7 separate regions of the Homo sapiens genome follow, and regions 1, 3, 4, 5, 6 and 7 are each linked to region 2. Evidence: promoter capture Hi-C in 16 types of primary human blood cells and fetal thymus (Javierre and others, 2016). All regions are on one chromosome and are shown on one strand. The core of a region is centred on a gene start or on the middle of the fragment in contact, and the rest is flanking DNA. Distances in the headings are between cores, read along the strand shown.

Region 1 (2,840 bases), core at 321-2,820, 2.4 Mb before region 2:
TTTCAGTCATATAGCCTTTTTCCCAATTAAAAGAGCCACATTCCCTTCCTAACTTATTGCTATTAATGACTTCTGGGTGGGGCCACAGAAGTGGTAGTTGGATCCAGGTGGAGCTATGGTCCATCTGGACCCATCAGTCTTCAGATATGCCACACAAAAAAAAAAAAAAAAAAAAAAAAACAGAAAAAAAACTGAAAAGATGTCTCAAAAGGCCAATCTTAGGTTCTACAAGAGTGATGTTATCTGCAGGAGTAATTAGGTAAGTTGTGACCTCTGGAATACTGTCTAGCGCTCCTTGATGTCTACGCCTTAGCAGAATTCAGGCTCCTCTCATTCTCCTAGCCTGATGGTCTCTCAATAGCTTTACAAAGGTAATTGAGTTTGGGGGAAGGGCCATTATCATTTAAACTATAAATGTCTCCCAAAGTTAGCTTGGCCCAAGCCCAAGAATGATTAAGGGCAGTTTGAAAGCTAAAGGCAAGACAGGGTTTGATTAGATCAGATCTCTTTTGCCATAATTTTCTCACTGTTATAATTTTGCAAAGGTGGTTTCAACAATAAAGTTCCAGTAGACAGACTGTGATACCTCGTTTTTTTTTATGCTACTAAAGGTCTTTGTGTGTATTCAAATTAGAGTATTGTAAATTAATTATAATTTATACTGCTCAAAACCCGATTTTCATCTCCAAATCATCCCCAAATTTCCCAGAGTAATAATAATATTTAACATCTATTGAGTGACATTTTATACTATTCATAGTGCTACAGGAAAGGGGTCCAGATCCAGACCTCAAGACAGGGTTCTTGGAGCTCATGAAAGAAAGAATTCAGGGCCAGGCTTGGTGGCTCACGCCTGTAATCCCAGCACTTTGGGAGGCCGAGGCAGGTGGATCACCCAAGATCAGGAGTTCGAGACCAGCCTGACCAACATGGAGAAACCCTGTCTCTACTAAAAATACAAAATTAGCTGGGTGTGGTGGCGCATGCCTGTAGTCCCAGCTACTGGGGAGGCTGAGGTAGGAGAATCGCTTGAACCTGGGAGGTGGAGGTTGCAGTGAGCCGAGATCATGCCATTGCACTCCAGCCTGGGCAACAAGAGCAAAACTCCGTGTCCAAATAAAAAAAAAATTCAGGGCAAGTCCATAAAGTGAAAGCAAGTTTATTAGGAAAGTAAAGGAATAAAGAATAAAGAATGGCTACCCCCATAGACATCTCTTAGAATGTCTTAACTGTCTGGGAATACAGCCCAGTAGGTCTCAGCCTTATTTTACCCAGCTCCTATTCAAGATGGAGTTGCCCCGGTTCAAACGCCTCTGACAACAGTTCTGTTAGTCCAAACTGCACCATTTTGTAAGCTCCCCACTAATTTTGCAGACCTTGGTCAAAGTGAAACATTTCACAGGGGTTCGGGGCTGTAAGAAACATCCTGTCTAACCACTTGACCACAAGGCAGACAAAGGCCCAAATAAAGAAACATCCCTATCATATCTTGCTGGGCAAAGTTCCAAGGAATACCATGATGACATCTGCCAGAACAAGGGCCAGAACTGCCTCATCACAGGAACATCTTATCAATATCCTGCCAGGCAGCAAGCCATACTGCCCAGACCCTTACCGCCCATACCTATAAATACCCCCAGCCTATAAGCAGTGGTGGGCTCTGGCATTAAGCTGGTCCCCCACATCTGTAGGTTTTATGCTGGACATAAAGCCTGCATTTACTGTCGAGCCGCCCTCTTTCTGTGTGTGTGTGTGTGTGTGTGTGTGTGTGTGTGTGTGTGTGTGTGTGTCTTTCTTTAACCCTCCTGTTCCCTTCAAAACCTAGCAAGTTCTAGAGACTTTTCACTTATTAACACATGTATAATCCTCCCAACAACCCTACAATATAAATATTACTATTCCTACTTTGCATATAAAAAAAAAACTGTGGCGCAGAAAGGCCAACTAACTGACCCAAGATCCCACAATTACTAAGTGGCAGAGTTGGGATTCAAACCAAGACTGACACAGGAACCCACATTCCTAAATTTTTAGCAACAGAAAAATAACCTTTATAATACCCAGTCCTACTTGTCAGAGGCGTTTGACCCAGAGTGCCTCCATCTTGAATAGGGGCTGGGTAAAACAAGGGGGAGACTTACTCGGCTGCATTCCCAGGAGGTTGGGCATTCTTATTACTATTATTATTTTTTTTTTTTTGAGACGGAGTTTCACTCTTGTTGCCCAGGCTGGAGTGCAATGGCGCGATCTTGGCTCACTGCAACCTCCATCTCCGGGTTCAAGCCATTCTCCTCCTCAGCCTCCCGAGTAGCTGGGAGTACAGGCATGCACCACCCCACCCGACTAATTTTGTATTTTTAGTAGAGACAGGGTTTCGCCATGTTGGTCAGGCTGGTCTCAAACTCCTGACCTCAGGTGATCCACCCGCCTCAGCCTCCCAACTGCTGGGATTACAGGCATGAGCCACTGTGCCCTCTGCCTATGGAGTAGCCATTCTTTTATTCCTTTACTTTTTTAATAAACTTGCTTTCACTTTACTGTATGGACTTGCCTCGAATTCTTTCTTGCGTGAGATCCAAGCTCTCCTGGGGTCTGGATGGGGACCCCCTTTTCAGGTAACACTACCTGACCTGTTTTTACAGATGTGCCTGGATTACACAGTTTCACAGGCAGAATTTAAAGAAAATCAACGCTTTCCTTTTCAAAAAGGAGACAAAACAGTTTGCAGCAACACTTAACAAAATCCTCTTCCTTCTCCTATGTTCTGTCCTCACACAGTTGGATTCCAGGGCCTCTAGCAACAACGGTTACCAGTACTCCAGGCCCCACACAAAAAGCCA
Region 2 (2,700 bases), core at 93-2,592:
TAGCTGGGATTATAGGCGTGCCTCGCCATACCCGGCATTCAACCCTTAAATTTATTTCATGACATTTGATATACTTTATTTTATTGCAATTAATTAATTAATTCATTTATTTTAAGACAGAGTCTCACTCATTCTGTTGCCTAGGCTAGAGTGCAGTGGTGCCATCTTGGCTCCCGGCAGCCTCCACCTCCAGGGTTCAAGCCATTCTCCTGTCTCAGCCTCCCATAGCTGGGATTACAGGCTTGCACCACCAGGCCTGGCTCATTTTTGTATTTTTAGTAGAGATGGAGTTTAACCATGTTGGCCAGGCTGGTCTCGAACTCCTGACCTCAAGCAATCTGCCTTGCCTTAGCCTCCTAAAATGCTGGGATTACAGGCATGAGGCACCCACGCCGGGCCTGATACATTTTAAAAATATCTTGTTCATTTCTTTTTTGTATTTTCTCCTCCCAAATCCAGAACGTCTTGTTTACTGCTACCTCCTGAAGCAGATTAAGAACACTCACAATAATTTACAAGGTTTCAACTATAATAATTTTTAAACAGGCTGGAGTGTAGTGGTACGATCTCGGGTGATACATTCATATTAAAAAGTACACAAGGAGGTTGGGCGTGGTGGCTCACGTCTGTAATCCCAGCACTTTGGGAGGCCAAATGGGTGGCTCGCTTGAGCCTAGGAGTTCAAGATCAGCCTAAGCAACATGATGAACCCCGTCTCTACTAAATATACGAGAAAAAAAAAATTAGCCGGGTGTCGTGGCGCGTGCCTGTGGTCCCAGCAACTTGGGAGGCTGTGACGGGAGGATCGCCTGAGCCCGAGAGGTGGAGGCTGCAGTGAGCCAAGATCGCGCAACTGCACACTCCAGCCTAGGCGACAGAGCAAGACCCTGTCTCAAAGGACAAAAACAAAAAAGTACACAAAGGCGTACGGTAAATGGTCTTCCTACCACGACGTGTTTTCCAGAAACACATTCCTCTCCTGGGAGGTAACTATTATCAGTTTCTTCACACCAGCATTTTTAATCTATGTCTACTCAATTTAGAATTTCTAAACCCTTCAGGATCTTCAAAAGACAAAATCGGCCAGCGATTTTAATAGTTCCAGTAAAGGTTTGAGCAGAGAAGTGGACTTTCTTCTGTTCCTCTTTTCAACTACTCCTAAGGACTCCTGGAGAAGAAAGAGCAAATATCTCTGCATCTCAATTTCTGGTCCGCAGGTAACCCAGTCTCAGTAGCTTGGTAGTTACCATGGCTCCCAGTGCTGTGCGTCTGACGTCATTCTGCGGCGCTGGCTGATGGCGCAATCAGTTGCGGCGTCCTGTGAGCGCGGGGATGCTGGGAGGAGGGTGAAATTTAGCCATCGGTGTGTGGCAGGGTCATGAAAAAGCGGCGGCGGCGGGAGAGAGGAGGAGGCGGCGGCGGGGCAGTGAAACTACGGTAGCTGCCCCCTGAGCTGGTGGTGTGGCTTTGTGGGGAGGGCGTAGTTCCTAATCCCCTTTCCGGGCAGCCGCCGGGGCTCGGGGCTGTGAGCGGCCGTGAGGCTGCCTCCCCGGGCCCCCTGCCTCCGCCATGTTCCGCAGGGCACGCCTTAGCGTGAAGCCGAATGTCAGGCCTGGTGTAGGCGCCAGGGGCTCCACAGCTTCCAATCCCCAGCGTGGACGGGAGTCTCCCAGGCCGCCGGATCCTGCCACGGACTCTGCTTCCAAGCCCGCGGAGCCCACAGATGTGCCCACAGTCGATTTCGGTGGAGCGGAGCCCCAAGAAAAGGCTCCTAGGAGCAGGTAAGAGGTTGCAGAGGGAAGAATTTTCATTTGTCCCGCCTCTCCGGGCATGTCACCTGGAAGCTGAGCAAATGAATTTTATCACAGGAGTCCGCTCTCGTTTGCAGTAAGCCTTTCAGTTGAGGCTTGATGAAACCACTCCAAACTGCAGTTTAGTTGTCTGACCTGCAGGGTGTGGCTTGTGTGGATTTTGTCACGGTCTATAGATTCTCCGAGAGGAGACCATGTCTTCAAGTGGTGGTAGGGAGAATCGGGGTATGGCAGTCCTGAAGTGAAGAATATCCACACTATTCATTTGAGAATTTAGGTCACTATAGTTTTCATCCTTCTGGAGTGCTTTGCAGGGAAGTGTTTTTGTCTTTCAATTTATAAAATATTTATTTTTTAAAGGAGAAGATAAGTATTGCTTTGGCTTTACCGATTTATGTCAGTGAGTAAGAGTTCTGGTCACTTAATTGAAGTGTGCCTCTTTAACTATGGTGACCGTGTTTCCTGAATAGAGAAGCATGGCTTTAGCGTCATGTATCATATTTGGATTCAGGACTCTTTTAGTCTACAGGTAAACTTTTCTCAGGCAGAATTTGCTCATCTGCAAAATGGGAATAATATTGCCTACTTGGAGCGTTTTGGTGCAGATTGGAGATAATTCATATTAACTACCTTGCAGGGGATATAGCAGAATAGTTGCCCGCAAAAAGTTACTAGTTTTTTAGAAAGGTGATGGAGTAAATTTAAGACATGTTAGGCTAAGATGGTCTCTGTTTCTATATATATGAGGAAATCAGTAAACAGCCTTGTTAAGTGAAGTGAGATAGTACAAATTCTGTTTATGCTGTGATAGGAAGGTGAAACATTTATTTATTTTTGGAACATCTTCCTCTATTGGCCTGAACTGGTGCTGAGTGTATGGTGTTACGTT
Region 3 (2,700 bases), core at 30-2,529, 2.4 Mb before region 2:
AGTGGTCTATTTTGCAAGTATGTGCATATATGCTAAGAAATAACTATACACTTTAGTGAACATTTGATAAGGAGTCGGGGGAAAAATTAGTGAAAGATTATTATGCAGGATTCTATTCAAGTGTGCCAGAACAGCTTTAAAATCAAATGCAAGCATTAGAGATAGGAAGAGACTTTAGGAAGAGGAAGACAAGCAATTGCAGAAATTGTATAAAACAGAAAAGGCAACGTAGGAAGTAAGAGTGAAGAGAAAATCCAGGAAAAATAGGGTTGGGTACAGTGGCTCATAGTTGTAATCCCAACATTTTAGGAAACTGAGGCAAGACAATCGCTTAAGGCCAGGAGTTCAAGACCAGCCTGGACAACATAGTGAAACCCCATCTCTACAAAAAATTTAAAAATTAGCCAGATGTGGTGGCACACACCTGTGGTCCCAGCTACTCAGGAGGCTGAGGCAGGAGGATGGCTTGAGCCCAGGAGTTCAAGGCTGCAGTGAGCCACGATCACACCACTGCACTCCAGCCTGGGTGACAGAGCAAGATTCTGTCTCTTTAAAAAAAAAAATGTGGGGAGGTAGTTTTTAAAAATACATTTTCTTATGTTTTAATCTTTTTAGAATGTAATCCATGCACACAGCAAAAATCCCAATAGCACAAAAGGATATACAAAGAATAGGAATCTCTTTCCCACTCCTGACTCCAGACCCCTAGAATTCATCCCCCACCCAAGGCAAACACTGTTACCACTTTCTTGTTCTCTTCATTTTTGTGTGTGTACCACAGACCACTTCAGTATCTGATAAAGCTTATGGATCCCCCTCTCAGAACAATGTTTGAAAATATGTAAGCTAAAGTGCAGAGGATTACAAAAGAAACCAATTTGCCTGTAATACTGTTCTATCTGTGAATCCCTTAGGGATCCATGGACTCCAGGATAAGAGCATCTACTCTTAGATTCCCATGCATGTACAAGCATATATAGTACAGTATCCTTCCTGCAGTACGCCATCTGCAGGGGGTGCTGCTGTAGCTCGGCCTAGATCCCCTGAAGAAGCCAGTGCACCCATCTCTTGGCTGCTATGAGTGTTAGCAGCTAATGGTTCACAGTTGCCCCCTTCTATAGAGAATTCTCCATCCTGCGGCACATTGTAGCCAGCACAGGGGTATAAAAGGTTGGACAGCTTTATGGTGCAATTCATGCTCCAGAACTCCCTGTGGGATCAGGCTAACACTGATATCCACTGAGATCATCTCTTGCTTACCTTTTATCCACTACTCTATGCTGTTCCCACCCCATCTCCTGGGAGCAACCTCTCCTAAAAACACAAGAATCCCTGTCTCAGTCTTTGCTTCCAGAGATCTCAGCCTAAGACACTTACTCACTGTTTCTTACCTTGCTTTTTTTATTTATTAATTTCTTGGAAAGAATTCCATATCTGTACATTGGAATTGTTGTATTCTTTTAACTGTTGCATTCTTTTAACAGCCCCAATATTATTGTATTCTTTTAACTATTGCATTCTTTTAACAGCCACATACTATTCCATTAAATGGATTTACCATAATTAATTTAGCCCATCTCCAACAGAGCCATTTCCAATAGTTCCTCTCTGGAAACTTACAAATCTAATTTTTACACATCTAAATGCAATTACCTGTACCACCTTGCCACATTTTAAGTATCTAACTAGTTGCTAAGGACCCTTTCTCTAACCTCATGAGCTACAAAACTTTAGTGATTTGCTTTCTTTTTAGGATAAAGCTTTATTCTCAAAACAATTTATCTTTATATTTGACAAACTGTGAAGACTCAGCTGGCTTTTAGCCCCTGCATCTCTTAATCCCCACAGCCCCAGCCTCAGAGCATCAGATCAAGGATTGAGCAATGGACCAATCTCCATTCTAAACTGAAGAAAAACAAGGACCTGCAAATGCTTAACTTGGACCCTCAAATCTCTGGGCCTCATCACTTGCCTCCCTGCTAGTAAGAGGAGTAGATGGGCCTCTTCATTCTGCTAGGAAACTGCTAGATCTCTTGCTCCGTCACACACCCCTCCTAATGACAAACATTAATCCCCAGGGACAGCACAGTATAAACACCTAAAGGGAAGAGAAACAATGTCCTATCTGCCCACACACTGAAAAGCAGTTTTGGCTGGACGCGGTGGCTCACACCTGTAATCCCAGCACTTTGGAAGGCCCAGGCAGGCAGATTGGTTGAGGTCTGGAGTTCGAGACCAGCCTGGCCAACATGGTGAAACCATGCCTCTACTGAAAATACAAAACAAAACAAAACAAAACAAAATTAGCCAGATGTGGTGGCACATGCCTGTCATCCCAGCTACTCAGGAGGCTGAGGTGGGAAGATCACTTGAACACAGGAGGCAGAGGTTGCAGTGAGCCGAGATTGCCACTGCACTCCAGCCTGGGAGACAGAGCAAGACTCCATCTCAAAAAAAAAAAAAAAAAAAAATTAAAATTTTTTTTAAAAAAGCAGTTTCACCCCACAGTATAGTATTTGCCAAAGGTATTTGTTTCAGGCTGCCCCGCACCTTTTGAAAAGCTTTCCTATGTTTAAGAACTTCCCACAGTTTAAATTCCACTTCCCCAATACTGAAATCAGCACTTACCTCCCGTTTTGCAGGTGACTCACACTTTACACAACTATCAAAAAGAGAGGAACACAAATAGGCAGGTGTTGC
Region 4 (2,859 bases), core at 337-2,836, 2.3 Mb before region 2:
TCAGACTAGAGTATATGGCACAGTCTTGGCTCACTGCAACCTCCATCTCCTTGGCTCAAGGGATCCTCCCACCTCAGCCTCACCAGTAGCTGGGACTACAGGTGCCTACCACCACACCTGGCTAACTTTTGTATCTTTTTTGATAGCAGGTTTTGCCATGTGGCCCAGGCTGGTCTCAAACTCCTGGGCTCAAGGATCCACCCTTCTCACCCTCCCAAAGTGCTGGGATTACAGGCATGAGCCACTGCTCCTGGCACTTTTTTGTTAAAAACTAAGACATGCACACATTAGCCTATACCTACACAGGGTCAGGATTATCAATATTACTGTCTTCTACCTCCACATCTTGTCCCACTAGAAAGTTTTCAGGGGCAGTAACATGCAAGGAATTGTCATCTCCTATAACAATGCCTTCTTCTGGGGTACCTCCTGAAGGACCTGTCTGAAGCTATTTTACAGTTAACTTTTTTTTTGTTTTTGACACCACTATTTGAAGTCAAAGGATATAGTTACTTTTATTTTTAACAAGCAAAAGTACATTCTAAAATAATTTATAGTATAGTAAATACATAAACCAGTAGCATAGTCATTTATTATCATTATCAAGTCTTATGTTCTGTATATAATTGTATGTACTGTATTATATGACTGGCAGTGCAGTAGGCTTGTTTACACCAGCATCACCAGAAACACATGAGTAATGCATTAACACTAGGTGACTGGAATTTCTCAGCTCCATTATAATCTTATGGCACCACCATCGTATATATGTGGTCTACCATTGACCAAAATAATGTTATGCAGCACATGGGTATATGTTGCCTGTACTTTTTTTTTTTTTTTTTGAGATGGAGTCTCACTGTGTCACCAGGCTGGCATGCAGTGGCCCGATCTTGGCTTACTGCAACCTCCACCTCCCGAGTTCAAGTGATTCTCCTGCCTCAGCCTCCCGAGTAGCTGGGATTACAGGCATGTGCCACCACGCCCAGCCAATTTTTGTATTTTTAGTAGAGATGGGGTTTCACCATGTTGGCCAGAGTGGTCTCGATCTTTTGACCTCGTGATCCCCCTGCCTTGGGCTCCCAAAGTGCTGGATTATAGGTGTGAGCCACCATACCCAGCCACATTGCCTGTATTTTTTTGGATTACTGCAAACAGTGCTGGTATGAGCAACCTGGTAAGTGTTACCTGATACATACCTATACAAGAATAAGAAATCTGTATGACATAATTCTATGAGTGGTATGATTAGGTATTTGTAGCTTCAATCTTTCTAAGGTAGATAATGCCAAACCATTTTCTAAAGCAGTTGTACCTATTTATTTTTCTTATGTTTTGTGAAATCAAGGGGAAATGTTTTTCTTTCTCTAACTCTAGTTGAATTCATGCGTCTTGATAAAGATAAATTACATTTCATAAATGATAATGTTTTATTTTTGTAGGACTTTGCTGCTATTTGAGCACAGTGATATTGTTGTCATTTCACTACTCAGTGTTTTGTTCACCAGTTCTGGAGGAGGACCAGCAAAGGTAGAATTTTCCATTATCAGTTACTTGGAAATGGAAAGTATGTATGTCACATATTATCCAAAGGAATAAAATCTTATCTTTCACCATTTAAAAGAATGCAGGAGGCTGAGCGCGATGGCTCACGCCTGTAATCCCAACACTGTGGGAGGCTGAGGTGGGCGGATTACATGAGGTCAGGAGCTTGAGACCAGCCTAGCCAACGTGGTGAAATTCCATCTCCACTAAAAATACAAAAATTAGCTGGGCATGGTGGTGGGCACCTGTAATCCCGGCTACTCTGGAGGCTGAGGCATGAGAATTGCTTGAACCTGGGAGGCGGAGGTTACAGTGAGCTGAGATCATGCCACTGCACTCCAACCTGGGCAATAGAGTGAGACTCAGCCTCAAAAAAAAAAAAAAAAAAAAATTCCAGGGGCTTTTTCCGCTAGTTTTACATTTTTCTTACAATTTTTTTGTTTTTGAAGAATTCTATAAGTTTACAAAAATAGATATTTGTGAAAATATAATCCGTAGTTGGAGAAATTTCTTAACATGGAAACAGTGGAAAATGATTTTGAAATGATTATAGATTCCTAGGAAGTTGCTAAAATAGTACATAGAGGACCCTCACCCTTCATTTAGTTTCCCCCAAAGGTAACTTCTTAACCAACTCAAGTACACTATCAAAACCAGTCAATTAGACCTAGTATTTCATATCACAATAGGGTGACTATAATCAACAATAATTTAATCATACATTTAAAATAACTAAAAGAGTATAATTGAATTATTTGTAACACAAAGGCTAAATGCTCGAGGGGATGGATACCCCAATTTACCTGATGTGATTATATACATTGCATGCCTATATCAAAACATCTCGTATACCCCATAAATACATATACCTACTATGTACCCACAAAAATTAAAATCAAAAATTAAAAAAAAAAACAGGAAATTGACATTGGTGCAATCCATAGACCTTACTCAGATTTTACCAATTTTACATACGATCGTGTGTGTGTGTATGTATGTATGTATGCATGTAGGTCTATGAAATTTTGTCATGTGTAGATTTGTGTAACCATCATTACAAGCAAGATATAGAACTGATGCATCACCACAATGATCTCTTTCATGTTGTACTCATGCACCTTTCCCCCAAACCCCCTACTCATTCTTAACCCTGTAAATCATTTTTGAAAAATAACTAAAAACTTGTTAAATTTAAATTATGATGAACATTTATCCAACATTTTGCCACCTAAGCACTCCTATTCATCCTAAGTGATTCAAGTATTATCCTTTTGTTAAATGAGTTACCAATCTACAATTCCAAACTGTTAGAAC
Region 5 (2,700 bases), core at 76-2,575, 2.3 Mb before region 2:
AGGAGGCAGAGGTTGCAGTGAGCCCAAAGATCACACTATTGCCTGGTCAACAGAGTGAGACTCGGTCTCAAAAAATAATAATATATTGATTAAGGCTGGGTATGGTGGTTCACACCTGTAACCCCAGCACATCGGGAAGCTGAGGCAGGATTGCTTGAACCTAAGAGTTCCAAAGCAGCCTGGGAAACATATTGAGAACTCATCTCTACAAAAAATTAAAAAGTTAGATGTGGTGACTCACGCCTATAGTCCCACCTACTTGGGAGGCTGAGATGGGAGGACTGCTTGAGCCCAGGAGGTCAAGGCTGCAGTGAGCCATGACTGTACCACTGCACTCCAGCCTGTGTGATAGAGTAAGACCCTGTCTAAAAAAAAAAAAAAAAAAAACAGGCCAGGCTCACACCTGTAATCCCAGCACTTTGGGAGGCTGAGGTGGGCAGATCATGGGATCATGAGGTCAGGAGATGGAGACTATCCTGGCTAACACAGTGAAACCCCATCTCCACTAAAAATACAAAAAAATTAGCTGGGCGTGGTGGCGGGAGCCTGTAGTCCCAGCTACTTGGGAGGCTGAGGCAGGAGAATGGCATGAACCCGGAAGGCAGAGCTTGCAGTGAGCTGAGATTGTGCCCACTGCACTCCAGCCTAGGCAACAGAGCAAGACTCCATCTCAAAAAAAAAAAAAACACACATATTGGCCAGGCATAGTGGCTCACACCTGTAATCTCAGCACTTTGGGAGGCCAAGGCAGGTAGATCACTTGAGCTCAGGAATTTGAGACCAGCCTGGGCAACATGGTGAAACACCATCTCTACAAAAAATACAAAAATGAGTGGGGTGTGGTAGTGCTTGCCTGTAGTCCAAGCTACTTGGGGGGCTGAGGTGAGAGGATGGCTTGAGACCGGCAGGTCGAGGCTGCAAAGAAGCCATGTTCGCACCTCTGCACTCTAGCTTGGGCCAGAGAGTGAGACTCTGTCTGCCTCTCTCTCTTTATCTCTCCAGGGGACACCCCAAGCCCAGTAATGCTGTAGATCTATATATATCTGTATATATAGATTAGGCCAGGTATACTGACTTGTGCCTGTAATCCCAGCTATTTGAGAGGCTAAGATATACATACATATAGATTAGGCCAAGCATAGTAACTCATGCCTGTAATCCCAGCTATTCAGGAGGCTAAGACAGGAGCATCACTTAAACCCAGGAGTTTAAGACTAACCTGGGCAGTATAGCAAGATCCTCTCTCTCTCTCTCTCTCTCTCTCTCCATATATATGTATTAGAAGCTCTGTGTCAGTGTGCAAGCATGTCAAGTGGTGAGCTTCAGTATAAGGGTAACCAAGCGGTGGCCCAGTCATTTCATGGGGACCTTTCCTAACCATCAATATTTTTAGAACTTTTTCTGTTGGGCTGATCCATTCCCCAGAAACCATTCTCTTACTTCACTTAGAAGGGTATAAGTCCAGCTGCCAGCCTTTTGGGGACTGGGTAGGAGAAGGCGACTGGAGGTCTTACCATTTGGTATGCACAATTTTACTTAAAGCCCCTCTCAGCTTGCCTGGTCTCCTGAAATCCAGAACCCCTTTAGTTCAGCCACTCCAGAACATAAACCTCTAGTCGTCTGCCAGGACCAAGGAGAGGTTGTGCTCTTACTGCACTCAGCTGAGCAGGATGGAATCAACCAATTCTTTTCTTTTTTAAATTCTTTTTTATATTTTAAAAATATTTTCATCCAGCTAAAAATATCAACAACCAATTCTTTTTTGTTGTTTTTGTTTTTTCGGTTTTTTTTTTTTGAGACAGGGTCTCACTCTGTCACCCAGGCTGGGGTACAGTGGCATGATCATAGCTCACTGCAGCCTCAACCTCCCAGGCTCAAGTAATCCTCCCGCATCAGCCTCCTGAATAGCTGGGACTACAGGCGCCCACCACCATGCTCGGCTAATTTTTTTTTTGAAACAGGGTCTCACTATGTTGCCTAGGTCTCAAACCTTTGGGCTCAAGTGATCCTCCACAGCCTCCCAAAGTTCTGGGATTACAGGTGTGAGCCACCGTGCCTGGCCATCATGCATCTTTTAAAAACCATTGTTTTGGCAGAGCTTGAGGAAGTAACCAAGATACGTGTGTATTAGTCTGTCATGTTAGATCACTACTCCCTCTGTGAAACACTGACTTCTCTTTTCTGAGATACCACAATCAGTTCTCCTGCCTCTCTGGTGTTCTTGCCCAATATTCTTAGATGGCTTTTCTTCCTCCGCTCCATCTTTAAATATGGAAGGCCCAGACCTTGCTTCTGGGCATCTACTCTTCTGTATGTTCCTTCCCTAGATGATCTCATCTGTGTCAGGCATAAAAGGCCCTCTACAGCAAAAAGGGATTATATCTCCCATCCTGACCTCTGTCTAGTAGACTAGTAGACCTCGCCTCTTGTATATCTTTTTTTTGAGACAGGGTCTCACTCTGTCGCTCAGGCTGGAGTACAGTGGTGTGATCATGGCTCACTGCAGCCCCAACCACCTTAGCTCAAATGATCCTCCTGCCTCAGCTTCCCAAGTAGCTAGCATCACAGGTGCATGCCTCCACACCAGGCTAATTTTTTAAAGAGTTTTTTGTAGAGATGAGGTCTCACTATGTTGCCCTGGCTGGGTCCTGTATATCTCTAAGCGTTCCAAATACAGCAGAATTCTTTCTTTCTTTTTTT
Region 6 (2,700 bases), core at 189-2,688, 2.3 Mb before region 2:
AAATGAATTGTATGCCGATTCAGCAGAATACTAGCTTGAGTTGGTACCAATAACCTGAACTTCATGCCCAAACTATAGTGCTTACTTCTATTTGCTATTTCAAGATATCTCTTTGTTTCAAGGTTGATACTGCCTCTCCAAGCCCAATGGAAACATCTGGATGTGCCCCTGCAGAAGAAGACCTGTGTCAGGCTTTCTCTGATGTAATTCTTGCAGTAAATGATGTGGATGCAGAAGATGGAGCTGATCCAAACCTTTGTAGTGAATATGTGAAAGATATTTATGCTTATCTGAGACAACTTGAGGTAAGTATTATCATTCGTTTTTTTTCTAAACTGCATCTAACTTTATGAAAGTATTTTCCATCAATAGTTTATAATAATACAAGCAGGACGTGGGCAGCATTTCTTAAGAGATCGCACTTTCAAATTCTCCTTCATGGAATACCTATAATAAAAAGTCACTAAATAAACCAATGGAGTCTATTTGTCACTTTGTGCAGGAAAGTTCGAAGTTAGGGTGGATACTACTATCGCTTTCTAAAGGAAAATCCACAGATTGAATTTGATATGTATATATGCGATCTCCACCACGTTTGGAATGGTTAAGTCCCAAACTCTGCATTTTAGGTGATAACGGGTCAGGAAGTGGATGAGGATGTAGAATATACTCAAAGACTACAGCCACCCCTAACACAAGGCATTTTGTGTTAGTGTGGCTGATGTGCATCCAGTTGTTGGTGAAATTATTTGTGCCCAAAAGGAGTACACTCAAAAGCTACTTTTTTGGTTCACTTCAATTTGATCCCACTTTTGAAACTTTCTATTAATGGCATTTGCCCTTTCCCTACAAATACAAGCACTCTTTATGGCAGCATAAACATAGTAACATAAATTATACTGTTACCACATTTACGTAGTTTTTTTGTTGTTGTTGTTTTGTTTTTTTGAGATGGAGTCTCACACTGTCGCCCAGGCTAGAGGGCAGTGGTGCGGTCTCAGCTCACTGCAGTCTCTGTCTCCTGGGTTCAAGCAATTCTCCTGCCTCGGCCTCCCAAGTAGTTGGGGTTGCAGGCACACACCACCATGCCTGGCTAATTTTTTGTATTTTTATTTGGTTTTGGTTTTTTTGAGACAGGGTCTTGCTCTGTTGCCCAGGCTGGAGTGCAGTGGTGCAATCTCGGCTCAGTCCAGCCTCCGCCTCGGGTCAAGTGATTCTCATGCCTCAGCATCCCGAGCAGCTGGGATTACAGGTGCCCACCACAACACCCAGCTAATTTTTGTACTTTTAGTAGAGATGAGGTATCACCATATTGGCCAGGCTGGTCTCGAACTCCTGACCTTAGATGATCTACCCATCCCGGCCTCCCAAAGTGCTGGGATTACAGGCCTGAGCAACCGCACCCAGCCCCCAGTTGTTTCTAATGTGTTGTCTTATGTCATCACTGACATGTTCATCTCTTGCCTGCTCCTTTTTGGCCTCTCCTTTTTCTATAGGATTCTTCTGCAAGACTTCTTTGCCAGGAGCAGCCTTCTGCTTTTAGTTTCTTCTTCCATCTTTCTAGTGCTTTTTAAAGTTGTGTTCTAACTTTGGAGGATTCAATTTAGTAAATGTGCTGTTTCTTTTTTTTTTTTTTTTTTTTTTGGGACAGAGTCTCGCTGTGTCACCTAGGCTGGTGTGCAGTGGCACAATCTCGGCTCACTGCAAGCTCTGTCTCCCGGGTTCACGCCATTCTCCTGCCTCAGCCTCCTGAGTAGCTGGGACTACAGGCATCCGCCACCACGCCTGGCTAATTTTTTATATTTTTAGTAGAGACGGGGTTTCACCGTGTTAGCCAGGATGGTCTCAATCTCCTGACCTCATGATCCACCCGCCTTGGCCTCCCAAAGTGCTGGGATTATAGGTGTGAGCCACCGCGCCCAGCCTGTAAATGTGCTGTTTCTTGATGCTTCGTTCTTGTTCTGTGCAAGGCCATTTATGCAAAGCAACCCCTCAAGTGGCAGAGGAGCTGAGAAACCAAGGAATTAGGCAGATAAATGGAGTTTGCTGGTATTGGGTGACTGATGAGGGGGAATTTACAGACATAAGTATGGTCTTTGATGGCTGTAAGATGTAGATCTCTGCACTGTAACCCCTCGTACCCACGGCTTGGGTATGTATACATTTTCTTGGGCAAAGTATACATGCTCTAGAATCAATGTGTGGGTGGCTGACAGAATGCTGCAGACATCACAGCCTATAATGTATACAATAATATCAAGGGCTGTTTTGGAGGAAAGGCCAAACTTAAAGTGAATAGGCAGAAGTCACATTGAATTAGTATTTAAAATAAAGTCACTGTTGTCCCCACAGTTCTTAGCTATGTTGCTGTTGGGATTTAACCCAGGAGCAGGCAGGAGTGTTGTAGTACATGGGTTCCAGCTGCCCTGGGAGTTACTGATATTTTCTCTACATAAAGCTCAGGTTCTAAGTTTAGAGGCTTAAGTGAAAAGATCTGAGATGATAATGTAGTATCTTTATTTGGAAGGGAGTGGACCAGCAGCAGTTGTGGTGAAGAATATCGTAAGACCTGACAATATAAAAAAGCTGTCATACTGTCCTATCTAATGTTTGCCTTTTTTTTCTTTTTTTTTTGGGGTGGGGAGACAGTCTCACTCTGTCACCCAGGCTGGAGTGCAGTGGTGCAATCTCGGCTCCCTG
Region 7 (2,700 bases), core at 131-2,630, 2.3 Mb before region 2:
TTGTGTCTTCCTCTGAGGCCTTAAAGTTCTTTATACCCATTTTAAATAAAATGAGGCCAAATTAGAAGTTTGTAATTAGGAGTTTAATTATTTATATTTATTTTGTTGTATCAGCTTCCGAAAAAGAATGAGTTGGTTCGTCATGTGGTAATGAGTAAAACCTTAATCAATAAATATGTGACTTTATATTCTCTTTATCTGTTTTCAGGCTGAGAGCACAGACAAAACAACAACTCTTAGAATATAAATCAATGGTTGATGCAAGTAAGTATTTTCATTTTCAAATTAGGGTTTTGTTGTTTGTTTGTTTGTTTTTTTGAGACAGGGTCTTGCTATCACCCAGGCTGTAATGTAGTGGCGCAGTCTCTGGTTTACTGCAGCCTCAGCCTCCTGGGCTCCAGCAATCCTCCCACCTCAGCCTCCCAAGTAACTGGGACCACAGGCACATGCTACTGCGCCCGTCTAATTTTCTGTATTTTTTTTGTAGACACAGGGTTTTGCCACCACACCTGGCCTCAAATAAGATTTTGTGAGTTTGATGATTAACAGTACTCGAGTGAAAATAAAATTAACTTTACCAAAAATTGTTTATATATGTTATAGTGTGGCAAAACTGGTAAACATGCAAGATATTTATGAAGTATGCTAAGTGTGCTGAAGGAAACAAAGGCATGATAAGAGGGAGGGGCTTCTTTTCATAGGGATGGCTTCTCTAAGAAGATGATTTTAGAGCTCAGATCCAAATGAGAAGAAAGTTTACGTTCCAATAGTCTTTTTGTTCTCTATATAGCTAGTACCATTTTTAAGGGATTGTGACATCCAAAAACTAGATTTAGTTAACACTGTAGAATTTCTATACCTAGGAGACGACAGATGTAAGGCAGGCCACAGGAAGTTTAGTTGTAGCCTTTGAAAGAAGATGTTTATCTAAAATTGACTATCTGCTCTTTTAGAGGCCAAGACAAGAAGATCACTTGAAGCTAAGAGTTTGAGATTAGCCTGGGAAACAAAGTGAGACCTCGTCCCTACAAAAATAAAAAAAACGTAGCCAGATATGGTGATACATACCTATAGTCCCAGCTGGGACTCACTACAACATCCAACTCCTGGGCTCAAGTGATTGAGTGATTGTACTGTACTCCACTCCACTGGGCAACAGAGTGAGACTGTCAGGCAATCAACAGAGAAATAAGTATTGATTCTTTTACCATTTAAAAAATATATATATGGCTGGGCTTGGTAGCTCACACCTGTAATCCCGGCACTTTGGGAGGCCGAGGTGGGCGGATCACCTGAGGTCAGGAGTTCGAGACCAGCCTGACCAACGTAGAGAAACCCCGTCTCTACTAAAAATACAAAATTAGCTGGGCGTGGTGGTGCATGCCTATAAGCTCAGCTACTCGGGGAGGCTGAGGCAGGAGAATCGCTTGAACCTGGGAGGTGGAGGTTGCAGTGACGCGAGATCACGCCATTGCACTCTGGCCTGGGCAACAAGAGCAAAACTCCGTCTCAAAAACAAAAACAAACAAAATATATATATATATACACACACACATATACGTATATGTATATATATGTATATATATGTGTGTGTATGTGTATATATGTATATATATGTATATGTATATATATGTGACTGAGACTTTATTGGTTAAAGGATTGTTTTTTACAATAAAGGCATCTATTTTAAGGGTACAATTTGATGAGTTTTGACAAATTTCTAAATCTGTATAATCACTACCACAATCAAGATACAGAACATTTTCGGCTGAGCATGGTGGATCAATCTGTAATCCCAGCACTTTGAGGGGCCAAGGCGAGAGGATTGCTTGAGCCCAGGGCAACCAGCCTGGGAAACATAGCGAGACCCCCACCTCTAAAAAAAACAATTGGCCAGATGTGGTACCATGTGCCTGTAGTCCCACCCAGCTGAGGTGGGAGGATTACTTAAGCCTGGGATATCAAGGCTGCAGTGAGCCGAGATCACACCACTACACTACAGCCTGGGTGACAGTGACAGGAGACCCTGTCTCCCCCAAAAAAAGATACAGAACATTTTCTTTTTTTGTTTTTTCTGTTTTTTTTTTTTTTTTGAGACGGGGTCTTGTTCTGTCGCCCAGGCTAGAGTGCAGCGGCGCAATCTTAGCTCACTGCAACCTCCGCCTCCCGGATTCACTGCCTCAGCCTCTCAAGTAGCCAGGATTACAGGCACCTGCCACCATGGCCGGCTAATTTTTGTATTTTTAGTAGAGACGGGTTTCACCATGTTGGCCAGGCTGGTCTCTTAACTCCTGACCTCAGGTGATCCACCTGCCTCGGCCTCCCAAAGTACTGGGATTACAGGCATGAGCCATCACACCCCTGGCCACACGTGGCTTTTTAAAGCTAATTAAAATGAAATAAAATTTAAAATCAAGTACATATCAAATGCTCAGTTGCCACATGTGGCCAGTGGCTATCCTATGGGATAGCATAGATAGGAAACATTTCCATCATCACAGGAAGTTCTAGGCTTTTTTCTGTACCATTGAGGTATTTGTTGATCCCTACACAAGTGCCACATTGTCTTTGTTGGTTGATGTTTTTTTTTTTGAGATGATCTCACTCAGCCACCCAGGCTGGAGTGCAGTAGCAAGATTTTGGCTCACTGCAACCCCAACCTCGTGGGCTCAAGCGATCCTCCCACCTCAGCCTCCCGAG

The links. The method cuts DNA at HindIII sites, captures the fragments that hold promoters and counts their contacts. A CHiCAGO score of 5 or more calls a contact.
Region 1: a fragment that was not itself captured here is called in contact with the fragment with the promoter of BDP1 in region 2 in 1 of 17 cell types (total B cells); the score reaches 6.1 in total B cells.
Region 3: a fragment that was not itself captured here is called in contact with the fragment with the promoter of BDP1 in region 2 in 7 of 17 cell types (fetal thymus, naive CD4 T cells, total CD8 T cells and 4 more); the score reaches 10.8 in fetal thymus.
Region 4: a contact is called between a fragment that was not itself captured here and the fragment with the promoter of BDP1 in region 2, in 2 of 17 cell types (naive CD4 T cells and total B cells). The highest score is 6.2, in naive CD4 T cells.
Region 5: a contact is called between a fragment that was not itself captured here and the fragment with the promoter of BDP1 in region 2, in 1 of 17 cell types (activated CD4 T cells). The highest score is 5.2, in activated CD4 T cells.
Region 6: a contact is called between a fragment that was not itself captured here and the fragment with the promoter of BDP1 in region 2, in 2 of 17 cell types (fetal thymus and total CD4 T cells). The highest score is 7.9, in fetal thymus.
Region 7: a contact is called between a fragment that was not itself captured here and the fragment with the promoter of BDP1 in region 2, in 4 of 17 cell types (non-activated CD4 T cells, total B cells, total CD8 T cells and 1 more). The highest score is 10.7, in non-activated CD4 T cells.

What each region holds. Positions count from the first base shown.
Region 1 is chr5:69,089,907-69,092,746 of GRCh38, forward strand. No RefSeq gene overlaps it. Among named protein-coding and RNA genes, the nearest start is that of SLC30A5, 2.7 kb to the right of the region's middle. The HindIII fragment of the contact is 6,134 bases long and covers 1-2,840 here.
Region 2 is chr5:71,454,309-71,457,008 of GRCh38, forward strand. BDP1 (BDP1 general transcription factor IIIB subunit) reads left to right here and starts at 1,343. Exons shown (of 39, transcript NM_018429.3): 1 at 1,343-1,781. The coding sequence starts at 1,570. RefSeq lists enhancers at 278-1,204, 1,205-2,130. The HindIII fragment of the contact is 8,261 bases long and covers 1-2,700 here.
Region 3 is chr5:69,031,195-69,033,894 of GRCh38, forward strand. No RefSeq gene overlaps it. Among named protein-coding and RNA genes, the nearest start is that of LINC02198, 2.6 kb to the left of the region's middle. The HindIII fragment of the contact is 957 bases long and covers 802-1,758 here.
Region 4 is chr5:69,106,907-69,109,765 of GRCh38, forward strand. It overlaps SLC30A5 (solute carrier family 30 member 5), which reads left to right. Exons shown (of 16, transcript NM_022902.5): 5 at 1,443-1,530. Among named protein-coding and RNA genes, the nearest start is that of SLC30A5, 14 kb to the left of the region's middle. The HindIII fragment of the contact is 3,307 bases long and covers 1-2,859 here.
Region 5 is chr5:69,150,748-69,153,447 of GRCh38, forward strand. No RefSeq gene overlaps it. Among named protein-coding and RNA genes, the nearest start is that of SNORA50D, 8.7 kb to the right of the region's middle. The HindIII fragment of the contact is 5,938 bases long and covers 1-2,700 here.
Region 6 is chr5:69,171,148-69,173,847 of GRCh38, forward strand. CCNB1 (cyclin B1) reads left to right here. Exons shown (of 9, transcript NM_031966.4): 4 at 123-305. Among named protein-coding and RNA genes, the nearest start is that of CCNB1, 5.3 kb to the left of the region's middle. The HindIII fragment of the contact is 5,956 bases long and covers 1-2,700 here.
Region 7 is chr5:69,191,587-69,194,286 of GRCh38, forward strand. CENPH (centromere protein H) reads left to right here. Exons shown (of 9, transcript NM_022909.4): 2 at 209-264. Among named protein-coding and RNA genes, the nearest start is that of CENPH, 3.4 kb to the left of the region's middle. The HindIII fragment of the contact is 5,618 bases long and covers 1-2,700 here.